Linked DNA regions of Homo sapiens: all the other regions are linked to region 2. Evidence: promoter capture Hi-C in human tissues and cell types (Jung and others, 2019). All regions are on one chromosome and are shown on one strand. The core of a region is centred on a gene start or on the middle of the fragment in contact, and the rest is flanking DNA. Distances in the headings are between cores, read along the strand shown.

Region 1 (3,995 bases), core at 510-3,009, 420 kb before region 2:
AGGCACAGGCAGAAAGCCTGGGGGCAGTTACCAGGAGGGGGACTCCCCAGATCCATTGTAGCCTCACCCTCACCTCTGGGACTTGGCCTCCCCACTGCTGCCCCTCCTGGTCAGGTAAATCAGCTAACACACAGGGCCAGGGCCATACGGATGGGTTGGCAGGCTATAACCTCTGGGCTGGCCCATTGCCTGCAACATTATGGGCACACAGATTTTGTTGGATGCAACAACCTGTATCTCCCCCTAGGGAGACTGGGGAGCTCACCTTCTAGAAAAAGAAAACTGACATCCAGACTAGGTTATTCTCCAAGGTCATATAGCCCATCTAAGAGGTAGGGCCAGGATTAGATAGAGAACGAGTAAAAAACTTCAGGGCATAAATCCCCGCTGAAACCGAGTTTTCCAAGTCACTTGCCTTTGCTTTTTGTTCCACCTTTGGTTGGCAAAAATATTATAAAAGCCTAGGCATAATGAGACCTCCAGGCCCCCATCCCTGAACCACAAACAGCTCCAGGTCACTCACACCACACCCTTGTGTCCTGGAACCGTGCCTGGGAAAAGCTTCCCCAATAAGCTGCTGCCATATGCACCGGGCCTCCCTGCCTCGGGCTCCATCGTGGAGACATACCAGCCCCTGCCAGACAACCCGTGCTAGCCTCGCAGTTTATCTTCTATCTGTCCATCCATCCATCCATCCATCCATCCATCCATCCATCTATCTTAGAGACAGGGTCTCACTTGGTCACCCAGGCTGGAGTGCAGTGGCGTGATCACGGCTCCCTGTAGGCTTCAACTCCCAGGGCTTCAGTGATCCTCCAGCTGGGCCCACAGGTGTGTGCCACCAGGTGTGGCTAATTTTTTGTAGAAACAGAGTCTGGCTATGTTGCCCAGGCTGGCCTCAAACTCCTGGCCTCAAGGGATCCTCCCACCTCAGCATCTCAAACCAGGGTACCTTCTAGAAGCCACACCTTGTATTGCGGGCTCCAAGCTGCACTGGCGCCACTGGCATCGCCCACCAGGGGGCACCGTGAGCTCAGTCTGATGAGCCCAGTGGCGCCCCCAGGCAGAGGTGCAATCTGTGGTGAGAGCTCCCAATTCCAGACCCTGCACCTGCCCATGGCATGGGGCAACTGGACCTCTGCTGCTACTCCCTGTGTGGCCCAGGAGCCACGCAGGCTACAGTACCATGAACTGAGAGCTGCTTGGAAGAACTGTTGGAAGTGGGAGCTGGCTGGAGAAATCTCCACCACTAAGCTAGATGTCCTGAAGCAGGGTTTTCATTTTTTTTTTTTTTGAGACAGAGTCTCCCTCTGTCGCCAGGCTGCAGTGCAGTGGTGCGACCTCCGCCAGGCTGGAATGCAATGGCACGATCTCAGCTCACCGCAACCTCTGCCTCCCAGGTTCAAGCGATTCTCCTGCCTCAGCCTCCTGAGTAGCTGGGATTACAGGCATGCGCCACCACGCCCAGCTGATTTTTGTATTTTTAGTAGAGACAGGTTTCACCATGTTGGCCAGGATGGTCTCGATGTCTTGTCCTCGTGATCTGCCCACCTCAGCCTACCAAAGTGCTGGGATTACAGGCGTGAGCCACCACACCCGGCCTGAAGCGGGATTTTCACAAGACATTTTAACACACACAAGTCATGCCTAGGTGATTAATATGCATGTTAAAGCAGCATTGTTCAGATTATAAACATGTGCGCTGATACATAACACATAGGCTTTCTGTGCTTCACATGATCCAGAGTGTGTATCAGCACCTGTTAAGGAATTTCCCCTACCAAGGACAAGGGACGTGCCTGAATCAGACCAATCAGCTGCTTCTCAGCCCTTTTTCTCCCAAGCCCTGACCCGGAAGAACAGGCTGGCTGACCTATGGCCAGTTCCTATGAGACAAAGCAGTCAGAATCCCAGGAAAGCTGCTGCGGTGTCGGTTCAGAATAATCATTAATTTCAAGCGTTTCACCTCAGGCCAAATCAGTGAACTAAGTAACCTAGTGGGCCTGGCATAGAGTGGGAGGTGGGGCTACCTGGTGTACCTGGTGTCTCCAGGAGGGTCCACCTCCCCAAAGTGCTCTGGGGGGAGGACACACAGGGTTTGTTTGTGGCCAGGAGCTGGTAGCAGACCAGAGGCCTGGAGTGAAGGATGTGACCTCCTTCGCCTTCATCCAGGGCCTGGGGTTCTAATGTGTGCTGGGTTTCGCAGGCAACATTGAACCCCATTCCTCAGACAGGCCCTAACTGGGTCAACAAGAAGCCAGACAGGAGTCTCACCTCCTAGACAGACCCAGGCTGACAATGATTAACCACCCTGGGCCTTCCCCCAGGGCCTCAGCAGTGCCAACTGGCCACCAGCCTACCCAACGTGTGGGCAGCACACCTTCCAAAACCCATATCTCAACATTCAGGAAAAGCCTCAAGCCCCTAGAACAAGACCTGTGGGTACTGGAGAGACAGTCCAGGAAGAAAACCCACAATAAATGGCACTAGCTACCTGGGTGTCCCCCAGGAGCAAGCTGAGCACTTATATATGCTTTCTTCTCGTTGCATAATTCAATGTGATTTCATTTAAAATTCCTTCTGTTTTTATCACGACCCTACGTTTGTAGTGAAATTAACTACCCTCATTGCCTTATAGCCACAGCTGTGTAGACAGCGCACACCAACTTCAGAACCTGCACCCATGACTAAAGATGCCCAGCTCAGTTCCTCCCCCACCCCGCTTCAGTCTACACGCAGGCCAAGACAATCTAGCCTCGAGGCATGTGCTGCTGTGTTCTCTCAGCCTGGAAGCCCTCCCCAACTCCCTACACCTCCTGCTTCCTTTCTCAGACCTCAAAACCCACAGCTCAAAATCCAGGAATAAAAGCTTCTCTCCTAGGCCTTTCTTCCCACATATATAAATATATAAAAATCCCCCCAATAAGGTCATCTTTTTTTCAGTGTTACTATGTGTCAGGCACTGTTTTGGCTTTACTTATCTTAACTCATTTAACCTTTAAATGTGGTAAGTACTGTTATTCCTGTTTTGCAGATGGAGAAACCAAGACAGAGACTGACATACTACCTCCTTGATCAATATATAGGGAAAGTAAATAACATACAAATTTAACTACATGTTCTTAGAATCAGGACAAGAGAAATTAAATTAGCATCAGGTGTGTACCAGTGGATACAAATCTCCCCCACCTCTTTTCTATGTATCTCACTGACTTCATGATTCAAGGCTGGCATTTCCAGATAACATGGCCCCCATCACAAGCCAACTGCTTTATCTAATATGACCTATCCAGAGTGGCAGACATGCTGGATTTAGAACTGCATCATCCCACACTGCCACTGTAACATTAAGTAGCTAACAGTTCCCAGGGCCCTACTTACTGTAGGCTGAACACTGTCTACCACCATGGATTTTTTTTTTTTTTTCTTTTTTTAAGATCAAGTCTCTGTCACCTGGGCTGGAGTGCAGTGGCGCGATCTCGGCTCACTGCAACCTCCACCTCCCGGGTTCAAGCGATTCTCCTGCCTCAGCCTCCCGAGTAGCTGGGATTACAGACTTGCACCACCATGCCTGGCTAATTTTTGTATTTTTAGAAGAGACGTGGTTTCACCATGTTGGCCAGGCTGGTCTCAAACTCCTGACCTCAGGTGATCTACTCGCCTTGGCCTGGGATTACAGGCGTGAGCCACTGCACCCAGCCTGTCTGCCACCTCCTTTAACCCCCACCCCATCCTGGGGCAGGTCTTATTATCCCCCTGCCTTCAACAGACTCAGATGAGTTAAGTCACCCAGAGAAGTGGCAGTGCCAAATCTCATGCCCAGGCAATCCAGGGCACGTGCCTGGAATTGCCGTAACTGAGACAAGACAGACAAGAATTACAGAAGTTATGAACAATGAATGCATCACCCATCCCAGGGATGAAGGGAGCTTCGTGGCTGGGACATGATATACCAGCTGAGCGTTTCCCTTCACAGGAGGTGGCTGCCTAACCTT
Region 2 (3,782 bases), core at 18-2,517:
AGTCCAGCTTCTGAAGGCAAACAGCCCAGTCTGCGTTTCTCAAAGTGGGGTCCGTGAGCCACTGCGTTTGAATCACCTGGGAAGCTGGTGAAAGCGCAGATTCCCAGGCTCTATCCCAGACCCTGAGGCTCAGCAGGTCTTACGAAGGGCCCTAGGAGTAGCGTTCCTAACCGCCTCCCAGGTGTCGCCCACAGGACACTAAAGTTAGAGAACCGCTGCTCAGGGTTCAAGCTGGGAGTAAGCACTTGCTTCCCTCCACGCACCTGGTTTAGATTGGGAAAGCTCAACATGCCATTGGCGTCCTTGAATGTGGGGTCGCTTTTCCACCCCCGGAGTCAAAGGCACCACCCCATTACCCACCAGGAAGCGAGGGAGGAGCTTCCGACCCTTCCCGGAAACCCAACTCCCCCGGGTGAATGAACGAAGCTGCCCCAGACCCCCAGACGCTGCCAAATAGTGGGGGAGGGGACGCGGGACCCCGCTGCCCAGAGTGGGAGGAGCCGGCCTGCCAGCTCGCCCCTCCGCCGGAATTTAGCTGCGCGGGGCGGGGGGGGCGCGAGGGCGAGCGGAAAAAGGCGCCACATCCCATCCCGGCGGAGCGCTCCCCACCCCTCGCCTTGCGGGGCTGTCCCGTTCTTAAAGGAAGATGGCCCCGCCCCCTCCCGCGGTGGGCAGGGCCTTGCCCCTCCCCCCCCAGTGGGGGGGTGCGCGGCGAGCCCCCCCCACCCCGGGCCCCACGGAGCCCCCCTCGGCTGTCCGCCTCACCAGGCGCGCGGCCTCGGCCCACGTGCGCTCCTTCTTCTTCTTCTGTTTGTCCTTCATCCTTCTCCCCGGCGGCGGCGGCAGCTCCACGCGGGACCTCCGGGCTGGGCGGGCTGGGGCGGTGGCGCGGGGCTGGGGCGGCGGCGGCGGTGGGGGGGGCGCGTGGCAGCGGCGGCGCGCGAGGTCTCGGGTGCGGCCGGGGAGAAGGGGCGGGCACGCGGGGACCGGCTGGCGCGAGAGCGGCGGTGGGGGAGGGGCGGCGGCGGCTCCACGCGCCCGCGCTGCGTCAGTCGCCCACGGCGGCAGCGGCGGCTGCCCCGCGATCGCTAAGGAATGCGGCGGCTCCGCATAACCACGGGGTCAGAGGTCACGGCTCCGGCCTCCGCTTTCCCGCTCTGCTGAGGGACTGAGACAGGACCGACGGCGGGGCGGGAGGGCGAGACGCGGCTTTCCCTTCGGCGCCCGGGTGCGTGCGTGTCTGCCGTGGGTGTGTGTGAGTGTGTGTGAAGAGTGAGGAGGGGGAGTGTGGGGTTTTTTTTTTTTGAACAAAAACAAACCGAAAGGGCGCCTGGGAGTCGTAGTCCCAACGGCCTCTCTGGCCTCCCCCGCTCCGGAAGAATATGGCCGCGTGAAGCGCGTGGACCACACTTCCCGGCGTGCCCGGCGGCCCCCTTCCGCTCTCCCTCTCGCGTCCTCCGCCTAGCACCGACCTCAGCTAGGAACGGGGACGGGTCGCTGTTCGGGGAAGGGGCTGGGTGGAGTCTCGCGAGGTGCGAGAACTGGCTGGGGGCCTGCGGGATTCTGGGAGGCGATGCTGGGAAGGGGCGGTGGCTGGGCTCCCCCGGCCACCCTTAACCCCTTCGGTGCTTTTTGCTTCAGGACCTCCTGGCGGGTGCGGGTGGGGAGTGAGGATGGGGAGCTCGACTCGCAGTTCCCACTTCGTGCTTCTCCTCGCCTAAACGGTTCTTACCTACACTTCTCGTAGGGGACGAGAGGCAGGACTTTCCCTTTTGGTCACCTCTAAATGACTCACTGCCACATAATAATGAGACAAAAAGACCCTCATACCAGTAAAACGGTTATTCCACGGCTGATGGACTTAGACGGTTCTTCATTTCTTCCTGTGCTTTCAGGCCGCTGTGTATTTGCAGAGCCTGCACCAGCAGCCTAGAGCGTTCTTAGGAACTTGGTGATATGTTGACGGGTCGTGTAAAGAACTTGGACTCTGGGGCCATACTGACCAGAATGCACCTGAGGGCGTTTTTAGAGGCAGTACCCTGGAGAGAATTCAGGCCCTGGAGTCCAGCGGACCTAGACTGGAATCTTGGCTGAGTCACTCCCTGGCTGTCCACTCAACCTCTCTGAGCCTCAGTTTTCTGATCTGCATTTGTCTTGTATTTCATGGCATTATTGGAATTAAAATTAACATACAATTCTTGACAGATTGGAAGAGGATGTGAAGGGAGATCTTGACATTATCAGGTCCGTATGATATGGCGCCTGGCATAGAGCAAATGTTTAATAAATGGTAGCTGTTATTACCAGCTGAGAAACAATAGGCAATATACTTAGCCTCTCTGAGCCTTAGTTTTAGAACCTGAAATGAAATTCAGAGCGCCCAGCACATAGGTTTTCTGTAACTATAGGTTCAGTCGTTGTCCAGAAACATTTCTAGAGTCCGTCCGGAGTTGGATTGATGCCAGCTCTTAAAAACTATGAAGGCAGGATCAGTGGCCACATTTAAACGGTTTCCCTGGGTGAGGAAACACACTCTCCACTCCCTAATGTTAACACGTAGCGAGAGCCAGTATTGATAGGAGACCATTATGGTGTAGCCCAAACTCTAACGCCAAGGGGTTCAGTGTTTTCTGCTTCTAATACTGGTCACAGAAAACTTGTGAGTCCGGTAAGCAAAATCCTACAAAGGGAAAAGACTGCAAGTTAGAATAAGACACCTCTTAAAAATCTCTCTAGCTTTACCCTGAGAGAAAGGAGGAACTACTGTCCCTCAAAAAACTGTTTGCCTTGATTTTTTACAAAGGATTTTTAACTTCTTTTTTTTCAATCTACGGCTGATACAGTACTCTTTGGCAAGTCATTTGGCTTCTTTCCGATGTCTTCTGAAGTAGCTTTACTGCCCTCTGACCTACAGGGAATAACTGAAATTTACATGTTTAATACAGGTACTGTGGTAGACAGAATAATGTCTTCCCCGCTTGCCCAAAACTGTCCAAGTCCTAGTCCCTGGAACCTGTGAATATGTTGCTTTTTTATTTATTTATTTATTTATTTTTTGAGACAGAGTCTCGCTGTGTTACCCAGGCTGGAGTGCAGTGGCGTGATCTTGGCTAACTGCAACCTCCGCCTCCTGGGTTCATGCGATCCTCCTGCCTCAGCCTCCCAAGTAGCTGAGATTACAGGCATGCGCTACCATGCCCAGCTAATTTTTGTATCTTTAGTAGTGACTGGGTTTCTCCATGTTGGCCAGGCTGGTCTTGAACTCCTGACCTCAGGTGATCCACCCATCTCGGCCTCCCAAAGTGCTGGGATTACCAGCCAGCATTCTTTGGCAAAAGATATTTTGCCAATGGAAATAAAGCCCTTAAAATTAGATGATTCCGTATTATATGGGTGAGCCCAGTGTAATCACATGAACCCTTAAAAGCACAAAAGGGAGGCAAAAGAGATGTTTTGGAGAGATGAGGCAGAGGAATTAAATTCAAAGTATGAGAGGAATTCAACCCACTGTTACTGGCTTTGAAAGTGGCCACAAGCCAGGGAATCCAGGCAGCCTCCAAAAGCTCAGAGGAAGTCCTGCCAAGAGCCAGCAAGGAAATGGGGACTTCAGTCCTACAACCTCACAGAGCTGAATTCTGACAAGCTGAATGAACTTGGGAACAGATTATACCCCCTCCCCAACTCTCTAGAAAGGAATATAGACACCTTGATTTCAGCCTCGTGAGACTGGAAGCAGAGAATCAGCTGAGCCATGGAATCCAGACGTCGGGCCCACAAGAAGC
Region 3 (3,898 bases), core at 1,012-3,511, 410 kb after region 2:
CTGCTGTGTCCTGGGCTCTCTGAGTGGTCCTGAGCAGGTCATGTCCCTTCTAGACTTTAATCCTTCCTCAGTTGGCCTCTGATGTCCCCTTTTCCTTCCTGAAAGCTACACGCCCTTGCTGGGGAGAGGCTGGCCTCTCCACTACTGGGATCAAGTCTGTCTGGTACAATCTTATCCTCTGCTTGCCCCCCTCATTTTTTCAGATCAAGATCATCTGGATAAAGAAATAGAAAAACTGCGGAAGCAACTTAAAGTGAAGGTCAACCGCCTTTTTGAGGCCCAAGGTATTGGCTTAGCAGGGACTGGAGATAAGAAGGGGAGGGAATCATCAGCATGGACTTTGAAGGGCAGGGATGGGAAGTCCGACCCTCAGAGATGGGCAGTGTCCGGGGCAGCCTGTGAGTGGCCCTGGAGGTGTGCACAGTGGTTGGTTGTAGCTGCCCAGGGACAGAATGGACAGGGGGACTTCTACAGTCCTAGTCCTGTCATAGTTTCTTTTCCAGGTCCCAGGAACCGCTTGGGGTGATCTCACGTTATACATCGGGGCATGGCATGGGGATCAGATAGCTCTGACTGAGGAAACTCAGAAGGCTTCAGTGAGTGAGTGAGGTCAGAGCTGAAATTCTTGATAAATGCAAGCACTCTAGATTGGTCACAGGTCTTGGAAAAACCTGAGGTTCTTTGGGCAGCAGAGTTACGCGTTTGCAGGCTCTTGGTGACACAGGAGCAGTGGTGATGCCTCATCTGGTGCATTGCAGAATTGGAGGCCCATCCCTGCCAGACCTCCAGGCTGAGTTTGGCAGCATTAGTGCAGCGTCAGCCCCTTTCCTGGGCCTGGCTCCAGAGCCAGCAGGAGGCCCGACGTGCTGATGGATCATCTTCTCTCCTAGGCAAACCGGAGCTGAAGGGTTTTAACTTGAACCCCCTCAACCAGGATGAGCTTAAAGCTCTCAAGGTCATCTTGAAAGGATGAGACTCAAGAACCAAGATGGGGGACCAGCAACCCCCCAGGGTCATGGAGGACCCAGGACCCTCCAACCTTGACACCTGTAAGGACAGGATCTGCCCTGTAAGGGGCCAGCCGTCAGGAATCTGGCCATGAAAACCTCTTTGTAGTGCTTGGCTACTCTGTGATGGCAGGAGGGAACCTTCAGCCTGTCTGGCTGCTGGACCTGGACACCAGGGCTCGGTGGACACAAGATCTATTGACGGGCCTTGGTAGCCACCAGTGGGTGTGTGGGGCAGTGGCTGTGGGGGTGTAAGAATGACTGCAACAGGCACTTCCCAACAATGGCCTGCTGTTCACATGGACCCTGAGCAAGGAAGGAGGGAGGGAGGGGCAGAGTGGAGTGTCATTCCAGCATTCCTCTCAGAAGGGAGAGAGGTTTTCAGGCTGGTGCCATGCGATTGGAATAAAGCAGGAGGCTCATGGGTGGTTGCTGAATGAAGAACAGAATCTTGGTGCTTTGTGGCTCACCACAGCCATCTGTGGGGCAGGCACACACACCTCCCGCCAGCTCCAATTTTGCACTTTTTCCCTGCTTGATTCCAAGAGTAGGTGCTGCCTAGCAGCCCTTCGTGGCCACTCTTTACTCAGGAGGGCCTTGCAGAGTCCTGCACCAGGCCTGGGTGAGTGGATGCGCCTCTTACCATATGACACGTGTCAAGATGCCCTTCCGCCCCCTCTGAAAGTGGGGCCCGGCCAGCACTGCTCGTTACTGTCTGCCTTCAGTGGTCTGAGGTCCCAGTATGAACTGCCGTGAAGTCAAAACTCTTATGTGTTCATTAAGGGCTCAATAAATGTTAGCTGAATGAATGAATAGCAGCAACTAGTCTTTATTTGCCTCATCTAGTCCTTCAGTAAGGGCACGCCACTCCATTTAGAATACAACCTATGAACATGGTTCTTGCCTTGAAATAAACCTGTGATTTGACAGGCGGGTGATAACAAATGGCAGCATGGCAGGGGCACACCTCTCCTGGTCCCCCCGCTCCTTGGCTCTGGCTCATAGTTACATAGAAACACAGGCTGTCATGGCCAGTTCTTACGTGTTTTCAAGAGAAGCTAGACATATGGGTTGTGAAGTTGAATCTCCTTTTAAATATTTTTGACTAATGCAGAAACTTTTAAAACATGAGTGTGGGTCACAGGTGTTAGCTCCAGATAGTGCAATACCATACAACTATAATCAAGAATAAGGAACAAGCTCCAAGATACATCAAGTGAGGAAAGCAAGGGGAAGGCTGGTGTCTTATAAGCTAATAATTTTTGTGCAAGCACAGTGTGATTCCCTCAGAACAGCACCTGCAGGGTTGGGGCGCACAGGTGGGAGGGAAGGAGATGTCACCCTATACCCTTTTGTAAACTTTGGATTTTAAACCGTATGAATATATTGCTTATTTTAAAATGTAAATAAAGTAGGGAGTTGCAGAATTCACCTTGCTAGATGTTGTCCAGTGTGACTGCCTGATTCACAATTTCATCACTGGAAAATTGCCCCTTCCTCCCTGGCAGGGTGGGTGCTGGGCCAAAAAAAGCTAATCGCATTCCTTCTGGAAATAGGGAACCTGGAGTCCATGCCTGGACCTGTCTGGGTTGGTGTGCCTCAGGTACAGGGATGAGTGGGAGAAGTCCTCATGCTCTGAAGGCAGAAGGTCTAGAGTAGCCTGGCTTCTGGCTTTCCTAAAGTCGGCTGGTTCACTTCTTGGATTTGCCAGTATTTTCCTTCCAAAAGTCTTCCCTTCGGGCTTGACCTAGGCAGGCAGATTCAACCATTTGCAGCCAGAGAAACTACTCTGAAGCAGGCGGAGTGGTAGAGGGAGTAAGTCCCCCCTGGAACAGTTACCCCAACAGCCCCGAGTCTTGTTGCAACCCCTCTTAAACCAAGAGGAAGCTTAGCAATGTAAGATGTGAAAAGGCAGATTTTTACTCACACTCAACTCCCGAAGCTGTCCTGCCCATGAGCCCAGGGTTTTCCGGTTTCTGGCTCAGCTCCCAATCTCAAACACAAGGCCTAGAGAAGCACTTAAGTCACCCATCTGACTTAGATAAATGCACCTTTGCAGAGACCCTCACTAAGCTCTGCCTCCCTGGTCTGTCTTGTCCATCTGAGAAATGGGGATGCCCTGTCCCACTGGTTTTCAGATGATGGTCAGGGAGCCCCATGGGCTCCCCTGACATGCAAGGAGAAGAGGATGTGTTTAGGGCTCAGTACTTCCCCAGGCCCCCAATAAACACACAATCTAATAACTGCTTGCTGTGTAAGCACAGCTTAAAGACGAGTTCCTTAGCCTCCAAACTCTTGCTCCTGAAGGACCTTTTCAGCACTGACTTGGGAGGTATCCAAGTGTCAAAGCCAGGAGGACTTGGCTGCAGCCAACAGTATCCCCGGAACCAGGCCTGGTGCCCAGTGACTCCAAGTAGGGCCTGTGCTCATTTATTAGATATGATCTCCTGGGGGTAGCAGAACTTGCTGTATTTGTTCTCTTTGGGCCTAACTGCCAAGTCAGTTTGTCAAGGTTAAACCTCCCCCAGTCCCAGTGATTGGCTGTCTCCTGGTGCAAAGATGCCTGGGGATGGGCTGGAGGTATCCAAGGGGCCCAATTCAGGTAGTAAGCTGCAGCTGCTAAGCCAGCAAAGCTGGTGCCAGGCTGGAGGTGGGGAGGCGAATGCTGTGAGGTGCTGTGCTGGGATCTGGGAGTGGGGGGGAGGCCTGGGTGGCACCTGCTAAGGCTGATTTCCTCCTGGCAGCTGGGGATCAACTGGAAGCTTTCTTCTGAACTTGAAGGGAGCAGAAGAGCTGCCTCAGTTGTTTCTTCCGATCGTTGACGCAGCCTGGAAAGGAAGTGGGGTGTTGGCTGGGATGACCTATGCTTGGGAGGAGTGGAGGGGCCTGTG

The links. Contacts are between HindIII fragments. The study calls those that stand out against the background at their distance.
Region 1: a contact is called between a fragment that was not itself captured here and the fragment with the promoter of ASXL1 in region 2, in 2 of the 25 tissues and cell types used here (IMR-90 fibroblasts and aorta).
Region 3: a contact is called between a fragment that was not itself captured here and the fragment with the promoter of ASXL1 in region 2, in 2 of the 25 tissues and cell types used here (dorsolateral prefrontal cortex and spleen).

Annotation. Positions count from the first base shown.
Region 1 is chr20:32,775,664-32,779,658 of GRCh38, reverse strand. All of the region lies in intron 1 of DNMT3B (DNA methyltransferase 3 beta), which reads right to left. Among named protein-coding and RNA genes, the nearest start is that of DNMT3B, 15 kb to the right of the region's middle. RefSeq lists enhancers at 1-96, 97-597, 1,104-1,233, 1,099-1,600, 1,636-2,184 and 1 more. The HindIII fragment of the contact is 3,440 bases long and covers 40-3,479 here.
Region 2 is chr20:32,355,816-32,359,597 of GRCh38, reverse strand. ASXL1 (ASXL transcriptional regulator 1) reads right to left here and starts at 1,267. Exons shown (of 13, transcript NM_015338.6): 1 at 766-1,267. The coding sequence starts at 822. RefSeq lists silencers at 568-727, 968-1,017. The HindIII fragment of the contact is 13,760 bases long and covers 1-3,782 here.
Region 3 is chr20:31,942,882-31,946,779 of GRCh38, reverse strand. It overlaps TTLL9 (tubulin tyrosine ligase like 9), which reads right to left. Exons shown (of 15, transcript NM_001008409.5): 15 at 1,780-3,835. The coding sequence ends at 3,759. It overlaps PDRG1 (p53 and DNA damage regulated 1), which reads left to right. Exons shown (of 5, transcript NM_030815.3): 4 at 204-284; 5 at 891-2,443. The coding sequence ends at 973. Among named protein-coding and RNA genes, the nearest start is that of PDRG1, 7.2 kb to the left of the region's middle. The HindIII fragment of the contact is 5,609 bases long and covers 1-3,898 here.